Linked DNA regions of Homo sapiens: region 1 is linked to region 2. The links are contacts of gene promoters, found by promoter capture Hi-C in blood cells and fetal thymus (Javierre and others, 2016). All regions are on one chromosome and are shown on one strand. The core of a region is centred on a gene start or on the middle of the fragment in contact, and the rest is flanking DNA. Distances in the headings are between cores, read along the strand shown. Region 1 holds the start of TRAK2 (trafficking kinesin protein 2). Region 2 holds the start of TYW5 (tRNA-yW synthesizing protein 5).

Evidence for each region. Contacts are between HindIII fragments. The CHiCAGO score rates a contact against its expected background, and 5 or more counts as called.
Region 1: a fragment that was not itself captured here is called in contact with the fragment with the promoter of TYW5 in region 2 in 1 of 17 cell types (monocytes); the score reaches 5.3 in monocytes.

The regions. Positions count from the first base shown.
Region 1 is chr2:201,447,115-201,452,313 of GRCh38, reverse strand. TRAK2 (trafficking kinesin protein 2) reads left to right here and starts at 856. Exons shown (of 16, transcript NM_015049.3): 1 at 856-964. It overlaps STRADB (STE20 related adaptor beta), which reads right to left and starts at 574. Exons shown (of 12, transcript NM_018571.6): 1 at 376-574. RefSeq lists a silencer at 4-683 and enhancers at 714-1,243, 647-1,501. The HindIII fragment of the contact is 4,144 bases long and covers 1,315-5,199 here.
Region 2 is chr2:199,951,536-199,956,801 of GRCh38, reverse strand. TYW5 (tRNA-yW synthesizing protein 5) reads left to right here and starts at 1,311. Exons shown (of 8, transcript NM_001039693.3): 1 at 1,311-1,409. The coding sequence starts at 1,332. MAIP1 (matrix AAA peptidase interacting protein 1) reads right to left here and starts at 1,220. Exons shown (of 5, transcript NM_001394955.1): 1 at 554-1,220. The coding sequence starts at 1,003. RefSeq lists enhancers at 788-887, 908-1,067, 1,238-1,357, 468-1,667. The HindIII fragment of the contact is 7,808 bases long and covers 396-5,266 here.

The DNA of each region.
Region 1 (5,199 bases), core at 2,137-4,636, 1.5 Mb before region 2:
TGTCTTCGATATGGCAACTCCCCAAGCCCGAGAGCGCGGCCAAAGGTGAGGGGTGCGGGGAGAGGGCGCCCGGGCGGCCTGGGCCCCGCGCACCTGGCACGGCCGGCACGGCCAACCCGGCAGGCACCACTGGGCGGGCTGCGAACCCGCGGCCCGGGCCCCGCTGAGCCCGAGCTGCACTGGCGCAGTGGCTGCTCGCCACCTCGGGCCGCATTCTTGCCACGGCTCCCGCCAGCCGCCGGTGCTCGGGCTGGAGGTGGGCTAGCGCGTTCTGGCCTCTGGCTTCCCGGGCGTGCGCGGACCAAGGCTCACTCCCTCACACGTCCCCCACCGGCCCCGACACCTTCCCTTCCCGGGCCTGCCTCCCGTCTTTACCCTAGCGGCGACCACGGCCAGCGACTCTCTTCAGGCTGCCAGCGGTGCGGACAGGGGCGGGCGCCAGAGCCCTGCTCGCGGAGGGGCGAGGCGAGCGCTCTAGGCCCGCTCCCGGCGCGGGGCGCGGGAGGGCGGCGAGGCCGCGACCGGGGCCGTGGGCTTGGAACTCTGCACCAGTCCCAGGCTACCCGCTGGGAACGCATTCGCCCCACCCGCGCCGGGGTCGCGGCCCCGCCTCCCTCCCCGGGGCTGGGCAGCGAGAAGGCGGGGCCTTCGAGCTTGAGGCGGGGCGGGCAGGAAACTACAATTCCCAGCAGGTCTTGCGCTGGGGCCGTGGAGGCCGCTGGGAGAGTGGCTCTCCTTTGGCTTCCCCAATTGTGTGGGGGCTGCCATTGACCCGGTGTCGCCGCAGAACCGAGGTCGCCGAGTGATGATGTTGTGAAGTCGCCCGCCTGTCCCTGCCACGCCCGGGCGGTTGCTGGCAGTGGGAGCAGCGGCAGCAGCTTCGGCTGCTGCTTTCAGGCTGCCGCTGCATTAGGGGCTTCCTGAGGAAGCGCGGGCGGACGACAGAGGATGCCGAACCACTCCAGTGAGTAAGCTGTCCGCGCAGAACCCGAACTTGCCCTTGACAACTTCCCCGGAAAGCGGAGGGACCTCCTCGTCCCAAGGTCCTCCGGTACCCGGAGGTCACGCGCGGACGTCGGAGCCGGAGGCTGGGTGCTGGAGGGCTGGGTCCGGGTCCCGCGGTGAGGCGTGGGTTGTTTCCTAAGTGTGGGTGCAAAGTAATGGGCGCTAGGCGCTGGCGTCGGTATTCAGCCCAGCTGCACATCTGAGGCTTGGCAGCTTCTCATAGCGCCTTATCCTCTGCCATACAGCATCCATCTGGAGCCCTGTCTTTTAGGATGAGTGGCTTTAGGGTCGGGCATTAAACCTTAAGCTTCAGTCGCCATCTGTGATGTAAGTGGGAGGAGAGGGTATTGGAAAGAGCTCTTTCTGGGTCAAATAGAGTTGGGCTTTTCTTGCAATTGATTTTGAGCCAGATGCCACATATCTTGAAAAAGAAAAACGGCTGACTTTAGTTTGAAGCGTAAATAATAGATATTCGCACATGTCCTTTTTAGTAGCAGCCCAAAAATTGAATTTCAACTTAAAAAAAAATCTGCGTCATAATAATAGGGATGTTACTTGCTCTTGCTCATGCACCTTTTGCTTAGACCTGCTGTTTCTACGTCAGAAAAAAAAAAAAAAAAGGTAACTTCACAGGATATTCATCAAGTTGATGGAATGGACCATAGGAACAAAAGGAACACTTTCAGTTCTTGGTCTCCGTAAATCTTCCCGACCTTTAGATCTTTGCTGTTGACTTGGAAGTCTGAGGTACAGTAGTCTCCAAATAGCAGGTTAATGGTGGTGACATGACACTTAAAAACAAATTGTGAAGGACATTTGGAGGTGAGAAAGGTCAGGGATGAAGACATTTTATCATCCTAGCAGTTATTCCAACTTTCTTTTCTTTTTTTTTTTTAAGACAGAGTCTCGCTCTGTCGCCAGGCTGGAGTGCAGTGGGGTGATCTCGGCTCACTGCAACCTCCGCCTCCCGGATTCAAGCGATTCTCCTGCCTCAGCCTGCAGAGTAGCTGGGACTACAGGCGCGCACCACCACGCCCAGCTAATTTTTGTGTTTTTAGTAGAGATGGGGTTTCACCATGTTGGCCAGGATGGTCTCGATCTCTTGACCTCATGATCCACCCGCTTTGGCCTCCCAAAGTGCTGGGATTACAGACGTGAGCCGCCACACCCAGCTCCAGTTTTCTATTTTTAAAATTAAGTAATGTCCAGCAAGTCTCAGACATTTAGCAAGCACATACCATGTGAAAGACAGTGTTTTGTTATCTTACACACTTATTCATATGATGGAAGAGGTTTGTTAGAAAGAACCAACATTTGGCCGGGCGCTGTGGCTCACTCCTGTAATCCCAGCACTTTGGGAGGCCAAGGAGGACAGATCTCCTGAGGTGGAGAGTTCAAGAACAGCCTGACCAACATGGAGAAACCCGTCTCTACTGAAAGGAAATACACCAGCCTGGCCAATATGGTGAAACCCCGTCTCTACTAAAAATACAGAAATTAGCCGGGCGTGGTGGCACGCGCCTGTAGTCCCAGCTACTCGGAGGCTAAGGCAGAAGAATTGCTTGAACCCGGAGGCAGAGGTTGCAGTGAGCCAAGATTGCACCCCTGCACTCCAGCCTGGGCAACAGCGAGACTCCATCTCAAAAAAAAAAAAAAATTAGCCAGGCATGGTGGCACATGCCTGCAGTCCCAGCTACTGAGGAGGCTGAGGCAGGAGAATCGCTTGAACCCAGGAGGCGGAGGTTGCGGTGAGCCAAGATCGAGCCATTGCACTCCAGTCTGGGCAACAAGAGTGAAACTCAGTCTCAAAAAAAAAAAAAAAAAAAAAGAACCAACATTTTAGTATTTGCAATCTGCCAGGCACCCCAGGTGGGAGCTCTTCATACTTTAGCTCACTTAATCACTTTAACAAACCTATCACACTAATCTGAGGCTCAAAGACTTGCTTATGTAACAAGGGGAGATTTAAATCTAGATCTGCCTTGCTTCCAAGTCACAGATCAGGTAACTAATACGTACTTCAGAAATTATAGACTTTAAAGGTTGAGTGGTTAAAGAGGATTGTCTAGTGTTATTGTCTAAGACTGGTTCCAACACACACCTTGGACATCTGGAATAAGTCCTGAACCCCTGCTTTAGTACTTTTGAACAAACTGATTCTCTCTGCCTACAATTCCCATTTCTTACTGAACTGCTCAGTAAGACCCGAAAAGCCCATTCCAAATCCATCTCACTTATGTAAGAAATTATAAGACTGGACTTTTATCAAAAGGTTCTTTTCAGTTTACAGGTTTTGTGAGTCTGCAAATAAAAATATGACCCTGCTGGGTGTGGTGACTCACACCTGTAATCTCAGCACTTTGAGAGCCCGAGGCAGGAGGATGACTTGAGACCAGCCTGTTCAACATAGCAAAACCCCATGTCTACCAAAAATAAAAAATAGCTGGGTGTGGTTGTTTGTGCCTGTAGTGCCAGCTGAGATCAAAGGATCCCTTGAGCGATGATGGCACCACTGCACTCCAGCTTGAGTGACAGAGTGAGACGCCATCTCTAAAAAAAATTAAAATACGAGCAGAGAAGTGTTATTCTCCACTGAAACTTTCTTTGCTTTAGTGCCCCAAATATGTTAAATACCAGTATAAGGAATGAGACAGATAATGTCTTATTTCATGTTTATTGTGAGCTCTCATTATATTATCTGTACCAGTTTTGAACCTCTTTAGTTACCATCCTGTTTAGTTGGTAAGAAATAGGAGGCAAAAAGGTAATAGTCACATTTAAATGACTTAGTAATTAAAAGAACTAAATTATTCATAGTTGAGTCATTATCTGTTCAGATCTGCAGTGTTCTTATAATAATAGGAAACATTTATGTAATACTATGTGTTAGATAATGTTTTACCTATATTAACTTATCCTCACAATAGCACTGAGGTGTTTTTATAGATAGGCAACTAAAGCAAAGAGAAGATAGTAAATATACCAAAGGTCATGTAGCTACTACATGGTAGTACTGAGTGTCAGAGAAGACAAGATCAAAATCTGTAATCTAACATTTATTGAGAACCTACTGTGTACCAGCCCCACAGCTGGGTGCTTTCATTATGAGTTAGTCATTTGTCTTTACAACTACCTTATTTAAAATGGAAGTTCAGCATGTAATGACTTGCTCAGAGTCACAGATAAGTAAACTGTGGAATCAGGATTTGAACCCATGCTTGTCGTACTTCAAGGTTCCTGTTCTTTCTTTCATTTTCCTTCAGTGATCAAATCTTTATTAAACACCTTCTGTGTGCCACACACTGTGCCAATGCTAGGAATTTAGTCTTTGCTCTTAAGGAATGTAGTTTGAAGAAGGAAAGAGACAATTAACATAGTGTGTTGAGCAATGGGATCACAGCTTGCCGAGGTACTTTGGGAGCACAGAGAAAGAACACTGAAGTTACTCTGGAGTGGGAAGGCTTGGACCAGTCTTGGGAAAACAAATGGGAATTAGCCTGGGCAGAGAAAAGGGGAAGGGGTTGTTATGGGCTGAATTGTGTCCTCCCAAAATTATATTGAAGCCCTAACAGCCGTAACCTCAGAATGTGACTGTATTTGGAGACAGGGCTTTGGGGTGATTAAGTTCAGATGAAGCCGTTAGGGTGGGTTCTAATCCAGTCTGACAGTTTTCCTTATAAGAAGGAAATTTGAGCACAAAAAGAGACACAGGAGTTGCACACACAAAGGAAAGACCATGTGAGGATTCATCAAGAAGACCAAGGAGAGAGGCCTCAGGAGAAACCAACCTGCCAACACCTTGATTTTGGACTTCCAGACTCCAGTATTGTGAAAAAATAAATTTCTGTTGTTGAAGCCACCCAGTCTGTGGTAGTTTTTTATGGAACCCCTAGCAAACTAACAAATAGGTGTTCTAGGCAAAAGGAATGACATACAAAAAGGCTTTAAGCTGTGGTTAGGTGATAGAAGTTGACATACAAAAAGCCTTTAAGCTGTGGTTAGGTGATTGAGGTTTTTTGGTGAAGAGATAAATGTTGAGAGAAATGAAACTGGAGACTAGGCTGGGGCTGGATTAGGAAGATTTTACATGAGATGCCAAGGGGCTTAAACTTTATCCTAAGGAAGATGGGATGGAGGTGGTTTGTAGCAGTGGAAAAGCATTAGATTTGCATTTTAGAAAGACTAAGACTTGTA
Region 2 (5,266 bases), core at 62-2,561:
GTATGGGGTGGTGTATTGGTCGGCTCTGTCTAATAGCTGGCAGGAAGTTCTGCTCTTCTACCCAAGGTGACATTACAGCACTTTGGAAATGTTATCTCAATTATTCTTCAATCTTACCCATTTATTAATGTATTCAGCAAACATTCATGGAGTGCCTACTATGTGCCAGGCATTGTCTTGCCCACTTTGTAAATTTGAAAATTATGTTCAGACAAGATGAGCCATATAGCTTTTTCTTTCTGAGACAGGGCCTGGCTCTGTATCCCAGGCTGGAGTGCAATGGCACGATCACAGCTCACTACAACGTCCAACTCCTGGGTTCAAGCGATCCTCCCCTTCAGCCTCCCAAGTAGCTGAGACTACAGGCGTGTACCACCATTCCCGGCCCAGAAGCTTACTTTAAGTCAAGCAATGGCTGGAAGGCTCTATGTCTGGGCCACTAATCACGTTTGATCACTTGTATCCCAGTGAAGAAAACTCACTGCTAAGCACTTCTGCGAGCAATAGTTGAACTCATTAGAGACGGATAGGTCAATCAGGGAAATAAACAAACCTGCTTCGCTCCCTCGGAGAACTCTGTGATGCTGAACTCTTTGTCGAAATAGGCCCAGATAAGGAAGGCCTTAATTCGAGTCCTAACCCAGTTGATGGGGTTGGAGAATCCCAGGACGATCATCTTGGTTTTCTGGTGCTGCTGGGGCTTCTCCTCCGTGCTGTAGCTGCGCTGAGGGCAGGCAGGGAAAGAAGCGAAGGCTGCGGGGAGTCCCGGGCTGCTGAGCACTGGCCACCGGGAGCCCTGGGCAGGTAGCGCCGAGGCTGCCAAGGCCCTAGCGCTTCGTGGAAATAACGCCGCTCCCAAGCCGAGGCGACAGCGGCAGAAGTAGCAAAGTGTGGCCGACGGCAGCCTCACCTCGGCCACAGCAGGAGTCCGGAGTCGGACGGCCCCGCAGGGCAGCGACCGAGAGTGCAGGAACTGGGGTAGCAAACGAGCGGCCAGCGCCATTTTTATGACCCTTCACACCGGTGCCTGCCGGTGCTGTATGGAAAGGAAGTCGGTGGGAAACCGCCTCAGCGGTGTCGGAGAAAGAGACTGGAGAGCAAAGTGGACCTGTTGCTGCAGCCTCTGGTGAGTCGGCCCCGTCCCCGCTCTCCAGCACGCAGCCCAGGCCGAGGCCCTTCGGCAACCCGCCCCGCGCTCGGACCCAGCCACTCTGGAGTCTGCCGGCCTCGCGGACCTTTTCTCTGTCGCTCGTGTTTCCGGGCGGATGGCGCTGAGGAACGCTTTAGAGCCGAAGTTCCGAAGACCTGGAAGAGGGCAGGCGTGAGCAACCATGGCCGGGCAGCACCTCCCGGTACCCCGGCTGGAGGGCGTTTCTCGGGAGCAGTTCATGCAGCACCTCTACCCACAGGTGAGGCCCTCGCGCGGGGCAGAACCTCGAGAAACCAGCGAGAGACACGTCTTTACCTTTCGGACAGCTGGGAACTGGTTTTTAGAGACCCAGGGTGTGGGAAAGAGGCGCAGGACGGCAGCAGATCACTGGTTGGCCCTTAGACCAAGGGAAAGGTGCACGGGGGACGCCGACTGGCTCCTCTATTGAAATTTCCGGAGAAAGTCCCATGTTTCTGGGGAGCAAGATGATGGCGGAGAGCTGAGTGCGAGAGGTATTTTGCCTAAACTCTTTACTCCGCATCTGTCAGTCTGCTCCGAATTAATGGATTTGAAGGCACAACTTTTCACTCCACTGAGCCAAAAAGGAAAGCAATGGGATTCCCCCGGAAAACTCCTACTCGTCTTGAATTCTAACTTACTTAGGTTCTAGTTCCGACATTGGAGTCTTTTATACCTGTAGTTAGAACCTTAGGTCTTTAAAAGAAAACTCATAGAGAAATATTAGGGAAACAAAAAGTGCTTTTACTTGCAGTGCTTTTCAAGGGAGTCCAGACCTAAGAAAAACAAGGTATTAAAAGGAAAAATCCACAGGATTACAGTAAGTCAGTTTATGGTAGGAAAAATACCCAGCAATTTTCTTACCTGATATTTACATTTATAAGGGTGGTCATAGAATTACAGTTCTGGGGCCGGGCGCGGTGGCTCACGCCTGTAATCCCAGCACTTTGCGAGGCCGAGGCGGACGGATCACCGGAGGTCAGGAGTTCAAGACCAGCCAGTAGAAATCCCATCTCTACTAAAAATACAAAATTAGCCGGGCATGGTGGTGGCCCATACCTGTAATCCCAGCTACTCGGGAGGCTGAGGCAGGAGAATCGCTTGAACCCGGGAGGCGGAGGTTGCAGTGAGCCGAGATCGCGCCACTGCACTCCAGCCTGGGCAACAAGAGCTAAACTCGGTCTCAAACAAACAAACAAAACTACAATTCTGAGTGTTACAAAAGTCGGATGGGCTGGGCGCCGTGGTTCATGCCAGTAATCCTAACATTTTGGGAGGCCCAGGTCGGTGGATCACTTGAGGTCAGGAGTTCAAGACCAGCCTGGCCAATATGGTGAATCCCCGTCTGTACAAAAAATACAAAAATTAGCCGGGCGTGGTGGCGCACGCCTGTATTCCCAGCTACTCTGGAGGCTGAGGTCGGAGGATCTGCTTGAGCCCGGGAGGTCGAGGCTGCAGTGATCCATGATCCTGCCACTGCTCCAGCATGGGCGAGAGGGTGAGACCCTAGCTTAAAAAAAAAAAAGGCGGGGTTGGGGGGATGCGGGAGGAATGAAGTTTTTCTTTTGATAGCAACCTACGGGAGAGGATTCAAGCCTTTATTAGTTTGGAGACTTGTACTAGATGGGTTGTTCTTGCTCTCCCTGTCCTTAGACACCCCCTATCTCAGAATGTGCTAGACGTAAGTTGCCTAAAGGGCAGTGTTGTGAAGATTAGGGTATGTGGAAGTGCTTTGTAAGAGTCATAGCAAAAGGTATTTTGTAATTTAATCTCTTCAGACAAGACATACAGCACAAAGCATCATTACATTTTAAAAAGTCGAAAATTACAAACAACTTTCTCTGGCCATGGGCAGTAAAACTAGAAATTAATAACAAAATTGGAAAAAAAGACCTTTCTATCTGGAAACACTAAAAAGTATGAGGGGGCATAGTGCTATGAGTTTTTTGTTAAACATTTTCTAATAACTCCATAATTAACACTGTATATTGTACAGGTACATGAATAGATAGACCAAGGGAATAGAATAGAAAGTGCAGAAATACCTATTCCTATGGAAATTTAGTGTATAATAAGCATGACATTTCAAAAATCAATAAGGCACAAAATGACTTTTTAAAAAATAGACTGTTTTTTCGAGGCTTTATAGGTTCACAGCACAATTGACCAAAGGTACAGAGATTTCTCATGTCCTTTCTGCCCTGACACATGGATAGCCTCCTCCATGATCAACATCCCCTCATTAGAGTGGTATATTTGTTACAATTGATAAACCTACATTGGCACATCATTTTCTTTTTCTTTTTTTTTGAAATGGAGTTTTGCTCTTATCGCCCAGGCTGGAGTACAGTGGCACAGTCTCGGCTCACGTTAACCTCTGCCTTCAGGGTTCAAGCGATTCTCCTGCCTCAGCCTCCTGAGTAGCCAGGACTACAGGCACCCGCCCCGACGTCCGGCTAATTTTTGTATTTTTTAGTAGAGGCGGAGTTTCGCCATGTTGGCCAGGCTGGTCTCAAACTCCTGACCTCAGGTGATCCGCCCATCTCAGCTTCCCAAAGTGCTGGGATTACAGGCGTGAGCCACCGCGCCCAGCCTGGCACATCATTTTCACCCAAAATTCATAGTTTATATTAGGGTATACTATTGATATTGTACATTCTATGGGTTTGGGCAAATTTATAATGAAATGAATCCACCATTATGGTATTATACAGAGGAGTTTCACTTAGAAAATGATAAAATTCGGTTTATATCTCACACTGTACACAAGAATAAACTCCAAGTGGATCAGAAAAATGTAAAGAAATGAAACTACACAAGTTGTGAGTACACTCGGCAATACAAAACAAAATGAAGCTACACAAGTGCTAGTAGAAAATATGGGTAAATTCCCCTATAATCTAGGTCTATGGAAGGCATTTCTAGCTATGACTCAAAATTCAGGTGTAATATTAGATTAAAATTTGACTGCATGAAACATTTGTATGCCAGAAACACTGTAAGCAAATTTGAAAGACAAATACAAAGTGGGAGAAAATATTTGCAACATTTATCTCATATAAAGGACAGTAAAAGCCCTTGTATGGAAAGAACTTTCAAAAGGGGGTAAAAGGCTGAAAATCTGGTAGAAAAATGAGCAAACGATTGAGGGGGGAAAAAACATTAAAATGGCCTTTAAACTAGGAAGTTTAAGTTTACTCATAAGAGAAATAAAGCTACACTGAGATACAACTTCTTATATATCATATTGGCAAAAATTTAAAAAGCTCTGGTAATACTCTCTTGGTGATGCCCTGAAGAAACTGGCATACTCAAATTTTATACCAAATGGTACAACTCTGTTGGCATATCTAACTATGTTCACTTTATGACCCAGTAATTCCTCATTTAGGAATTTATTCTGGAGATATACCTCCAAAAATGTGTAAATATTTACGTAGTGTTACTGTACTTGCAAATTATTGGAAATAACCTAAATGCTTATGCAGGCGAGAATAATTGAATAAATTATGGCCCATTTACACTGAGGTATACTAAGATGTAAAAAAGAATAAAGGCGATATCTGAACTGATAAGTGGTGATTTCTAGGATATATTTATGATTTTTTTTTTTTTTTGAGACGGAGTCTTGCTCTGTCACCCAGGCTGGAGTGCAGTGGCACGATCTCAGCTCACTGCAAGCTCCGTCTCCCGGGTTCATGCCATTCTCCTGCCTCAGCCTCCTGAGTAGCTGGGACTACAGGTGCCCGCCACCACACCCGGCTAATTTTTTTGTATTTTTAGTAGAGATGGGGTTTCACTGTGTTAGCCAGGATGGTCTCGATCTCCTGACTTTGTGATCCGCCTGCCTCGGCCTCCCAAAGTGCTGGGATTACAAGCGTGAGCCACTGCACCCAGCCATATATTTATGAATTTTTTAAAAAGCACACAACAGAAGAAAATATATGGTAAGCTACTATTTATGTAAAAAACAAGGGGAAGAGATAATGAAATATATGTTTTTGATCACTTTGCAAAAAAGAAAGGAATAAGCCAAAAATTAATGAGATCAGTTATGCATAGGGGATGTGTGAGTATGAAATGGAAGAATGTGGATGG